2 separate regions of the Homo sapiens genome follow, and region 2 is linked to region 1. Evidence: promoter capture Hi-C in human tissues and cell types (Jung and others, 2019). All regions are on one chromosome and are shown on one strand. Each heading gives the region's core, a stretch centred on a gene start or on the middle of the fragment in contact. The rest is flanking DNA. Distances are from core to core; before and after follow the strand shown. Region 1 holds the start of MICU3 (mitochondrial calcium uptake family member 3). Region 2 has its middle 31 kb from the start of FGF20.

What was found. Contacts are between HindIII fragments. The study calls those that stand out against the background at their distance.
Region 2: a contact is called between a fragment that was not itself captured here and the fragment with the promoter of MICU3 in region 1, in 1 of the 25 tissues and cell types used here (dorsolateral prefrontal cortex).

What each region holds. Positions count from the first base shown.
Region 1 is chr8:17,025,825-17,028,524 of GRCh38, reverse strand. It overlaps MICU3 (mitochondrial calcium uptake family member 3), which reads right to left and starts at 1,287. Exons shown (of 15, transcript NM_181723.3): 1 at 865-1,287. The coding sequence starts at 1,245. RefSeq lists an enhancer at 660-749 and a silencer at 900-1,309. The HindIII fragment of the contact is 10,669 bases long and covers 1-2,700 here.
Region 2 is chr8:16,970,189-16,972,888 of GRCh38, reverse strand. No RefSeq gene overlaps it. Among named protein-coding and RNA genes, the nearest start is that of FGF20, 31 kb to the left of the region's middle. The HindIII fragment of the contact is 5,468 bases long and covers 1-2,700 here.

The sequences.
Region 1 (2,700 bases), core at 38-2,537:
AGCCTTGCAAGGAAAATCTCCTTAATTTTCCTAGTCATTTACATGACTATTAAATATACTGATGCGACAAAAAAAATCACGCTCCTTTACTCACTGTTGCCTTTCACACATCTTTACCTTGTATTATTAACTACATAATGACAGTTGAACATTTTCACGTGACTTTCTTCTGTAGGAGTTTGTGTCATTCACAGCCTCCTACATTTGCTATCCTATCCATTTTGTGTTTTATCGTTACCTACTAACGGGATTCTGGCTTTAGTGGGGGAAGGAAAAAGAGAGAAATACTTATGTCTCTTTTTGAACAATTTTTTATTTCTTTTCAGACCTGGTAACATCAACATTCCCTGGGTATGATAAGGGCGTTAGCATGCAGGTTTAGCATTTCCTTTCTTGGGACTAATAAATTCTCATATGCTAAAGTAGTGGCTTTTGAGATCTCAGACCGCTGCTTCGAAACTCATTCTAATGCAACAGACCTCCTGGGTCATTAGCTGTCGCCCCGCGCAATCTAGGAGTTCCTTTTTCCCACACCTACAGCGGTCCACTTTCTGCCTGTCATGGCCTTCATTTCTGAATCTTTTTTTGTAAGAGGGGGAGGGGTGTTGGTTTTGGGTTTGGATTGATACTTGGTAGCTGCAGCCACCTTTAAGGTCCTGATGCATCAGGGACAGCATCACTGGTCTTCCCAATACGTGGGTGACCGGATCCTAGGCTGTCCGGCCTAGGTGTCAGCCTCGCTCACGGGAAGTTCCTCACCCGCGGCCACAGCGCTTGCACCGTCCCCACAGCCTCCAGGGTCCTGCGTACCCGGCACGAAGGTCACATCCCCCGCGCAGGTGTGACGCGCGCTCGCGCACTCACCGTCTCCTTGGCAGCCGCCACTGGGATGGGCAGCATCCCCCGGCCGCGGGGCGGGTCCTCGGGCTCCGTGGCCGCGCTCTTTGAGGGTCGCCCGGTCGCCGGCGAGCCGGCCCTGGGGTCCCCGTACAGCTGGTAGCATACCAGGCCGACCAGCCCCCCGCCGGCCGCCGCCGCCACGCTCAGCTCCCCCCAGCGCCGCCGCCGCCTCCATGCCGCCTCCGCCACAGCCCTCTCCTCATCCTCTCGGGAGGAGAAGGGCCGGCCAGGAAGGCCCAGGGTGGTCACCGCAGGCCGCCCCCACGGCCCAAGGAGGGGCTGGTGAGCGCAGAGTGGAGGAGACACCCGGGGTGGCGGCCACAAGAGCCTTCGCAGCGCAGCCATAGCGGAGGCCGCCCACACCAGAGCTGGGAGGGGGCAGAGAACGGAGGGGCGGGGGCGGGGGGGGGGGTCGCCGAAATCTCGCGAGAAGTCGGTGCCGCGAGCTTCGCGGCCGGCCGAGAGCGACCCCTACACTCGCGCGGCCCCGGGGACCCGCGACGCCACCTTCAGCGTAGCGGTCCCGTGGTTCGGCCCGGGAAGATCATGGAAGAGGCGGCGGATCCCGGCTGCTCCCCGGCCCCGAACCCCCAGCCCAACCACGCAGTCATAAATAACCGCGCCAGCCCGGCGACACCTGGCTACGCGACAGCGCGACACTGCGGGCACAGCCGAGTCAGCGTAACTGAGGCGCGGCCGAGTGCGGGGCTCTCTGGGGCCCGCGCCGCTGCTACGGGCGGGGTGGGTCTCCGAGCTGGGCTCAGCGCCCGTCTGGGACACTCACATTCCCTAACGGTCTCCTGACCTCAGGAAACTCAAGGTCTTGACTCAAGGTCGTGAACGATTTGCAATTGTATCTTCACATATACGACACAAATGAGGTATAAGCATTTGGCTCAAGTCATAACGATTGCAAATTAAGGCAAACACTTTGACGACTGAAGGGCAGCTTCCGGACTTTTGATGGGAGAAGGCTAATGCTGTTTTTTAGAAGCATTAGCACACCCGCGGTCACTTAATTCAACAAATCAGAACTGTCTTGTGCATATAAAAGTTAAAAATTTTAAAACTTCTGTGAATAAAGATAAAATCTTGAACGATACCCTGATTTTTCAGGGAAGCGCTGTTTGTATAAATATAAAATAAATGAGAAGCGTATTGTGTCATCTTTTTGTTTTTACTGTACTTTTTGTTTGCTATGTTATCAGTATCAGTTTTTATGAGAAAGTGTAGATGAAGTTCCTATCAGTTTCTCTCCCCAGACCCCAGTTTTGGTAACTTGAATTATGTTAGCTTTTTCTTCCTACTATGGAATGGTGCCAGGAGTCCCTAAAATATTGTGGATCTAAGGGGACAGACAACTAAATACAGTGGTCTCAATTGGGCTGCAGTGACAAGAGAATACACCATCAGTTGATTCTGGCAATTCTTGTAAAGACTAAAGGCTTTCAGAGACGACCAAATGAGTTTTTTCTGGCTCAGGTCCTACAATTTCTTCCCTTTTTTTTTTCTTTTTTTGAGACGGAGTCTTGCTCTGTTGCCCAGGCTAGAGTGCAGTGGCACATTCTCGGCTCACTGCAACGTCCGTCTCCCTGGTTCAAGCGATTCTCCTGCCTCAGCCTCCCGAGTAGCTGGGATTACAGGCACCCGCCACCGTGCCTGGCTAATTTTTGTGTTTTTAGTAGAGATGGGGGTCTCACCATCTTGGCCTGGCTGGCCTCGAACTCCTGGAGGTCCTGCAATTTCTATTCCTAACACCTTGCATGTAAATAGCACATCAGGTACACCCTGTTACCTCTT
Region 2 (2,700 bases), core at 28-2,527, 56 kb after region 1:
GGTCAAGGACAGTATTTCTTAGAAGCAATGTACCTTTGGAATCAGTATGGGTGCCCTTGTCAAGGGCTGGTCTCCAGCAGGGCAGCACAATCTGTGATGGCTTCATATCTCTTTGGAGATCAATATGACTCTCTATTGACTGTACTGTTTCCATTTAAGAATGGAAATCTCATTTGCTCATTCCTCCTTGAGAGTAATGAGGTTTCAGGTATAAGGCAATTAATGGGGGTAGCAAAAGAATTTGATGTTCTGTTTATGAACTGCTGTTTTAACTATGGCACAGTAAGTGGCTGGCAATTGTCTTTCAAAATGAGAACACTATTTGGCAGACTTGACAGCTTTGTCATTTGATTTGGGACATGCCGATGGCTCCACATCAAGGGCAGAGAGGTCAGAAAGTTGCTTGTGCAAGCTTTAAGGCATTTTGTTGTTCAGGATGCTGTGCAATTGAATGATGAGACTACAGCATAACACCCAGATGTGTCACTATCCACACATGACACTTGTTTCTTTGCCTCCTGTTTGGTGATGTGGCTCTCAAGGATAAAATTTTTGTCTCATTCAGTGCATAGTTTGTTTGCTCCAAATAATGCTACTCTCACAAATGTTGTTTGGTGAAGGGCCCTTGAATTTTTTTCTTGTTAATTGTTCTAGCATTTTTAGTCATCAAACTAACGAGGAAAGACAGAGTTCAGTTATGATTATTTCTGACTGCTGATCAATATGACATCTATGAAAAGGATGAAATTTCTCCTTGAATTATGGCAAGGCTCCTGTTTAAACTTTACCTTGTTAGATTATAATGCAGTGTTGGAGAGTTTATTCCTGTAGTAGTACAATAAAGGTATAATTCTTCAACATCCATCCCTATTATATAGTTTGGTGAACTTCTAATGGAACTTGGTACCTTTTTTTTTATTATTATACTTTAAGTTTTAGGGTACATGTGCACATTGTGCAGGTTAGTTACATACGTATATATGTGCCATGCTGGTGTGCTGCACCCACTAACTCGTCATCTAGCATTAGGTATATCTCCCAATGCTATCCCTCCCCCCTCCCCCCACCCCACAACAGTCCCCAGAGTGTGACGTTCCCCTTCCTGTGTCCATGTGATCTCATTGTTCAATTCCCACCTATGAGTGAGAATATGCGGTGTTTGGTTTTTTGTTCTTGCTATAGTTTACTGAGAATGATGGTTTCCAATTTCATCCATGTCCCTACAAAGGACATGAACTCATCCTTTTTTATGGCTGCATAGTATTCCATGGTGTATATGTGCCATATTTTCTTAATCCAGTCTATCATTGTTGGACATTTGGGTTGGTTCCAAGTCTTTGCTATTGTGAATAATGCCGCAAGAAACATACGTGTGCATGTGTCTTTATAGCAGCATGATTTATAGTCCTTTGGGTATATACCCAGTAATGGGATGGCTGGGTCAAATGGTATTTCTAGTTCTAGATCCCTGAGGAATCGCCACACTGACTTCACAATGGTTGAACTAGTTTACAGTCCCACCAACAGTGTAAAAGTGTTCCTATTTCTCCACATCCTCTCCAGAACCTGTTGTTTCCTGACTTTTTAATGATTGCCATTCTAACTGGTGTGAGATGGTATCTCACTGTGGTTTTGATTTGCATTTCTCTGATGGCCAGTGATGATGAGCATTTTTTCATGTGTTTTTTGGCTGCATAAATGTCTTCTTTTGAGCAGTGTCTGTTCATGTCCTTCGCCCACTTTTTGATGGGGTTGTTTGTTTTTTTTCTTGTAAATTTGTTTGAGTTCATTGTAGATTCTGGATATTAGCCCTTTGTCAGATGAGTAGGTTGTGAAAATTTTCTCCCATTTTGTAGGTTGCCTGTAACAATTGGCCTTCCAAAAGGGAATCTCTAGAGCAGCCTAGTATCACCACAGTTGTAAATATGAAATAGTACCTACAACCTACAAAAAGCTACTATTTCATATTTACAACTGTGGTGATACTGGGCTGCTCTAGAGATTCCCTTTTGGAAGGCCAATTGTTAGGCTCCTACTCTTTAACTTTTTGAGAAGAAGGTTCTTACCTTTCCTAAAATTGCAATGAATTCCTTGCAATTACACATTCATGGAAAGGAGATACCACCCCAGGAAAAATTCTCTACCCAGCAATTATAACCCAGCAACTTCAGCCACTTTTTCTCCACATCCTTCAATAGTCAAAAGAATTTCTGTCCTTGTATTCAAGCTTCCTAGAATTAATGTTATCTTTGATCCTGTATCTGAAATTTCCTATATTCTTGAATATTGTCCTTCATTCAAAGCAGTCATAAGGTTTAGGGTCTCTCCAGGCAGATCAGAGGTTTAATAGACCTGCATGTTAAGGACTTTGGGACAATTTGTCCTTCCCTATGGGAGGCTGGGCTTGATCTCTCAGACTTTAAGGCCAGGTTTCTTAAATTTAGAGAGATCAGGAAAAAAATCAAAGAAAATGCTTTAGGTGCTGTCTGTTTTTCTTGTGTGGGGAGGAGTTTATCCTTAAGATTTACAAAGTCCTTGTCTCAGTGTTCCCTCTCTTGGCTCCACTCCCAGTGATTTTGAAGTGGCTAGTTACTATCTGTGTGGAGGATTTGCTAGGGATGTTGCCATGGCTGCTATGCCTGCAAGTTTAGCTGATTCTTGTGTCCTATTGATCTCCTCTGAATCTCAGCAACTTGCCAG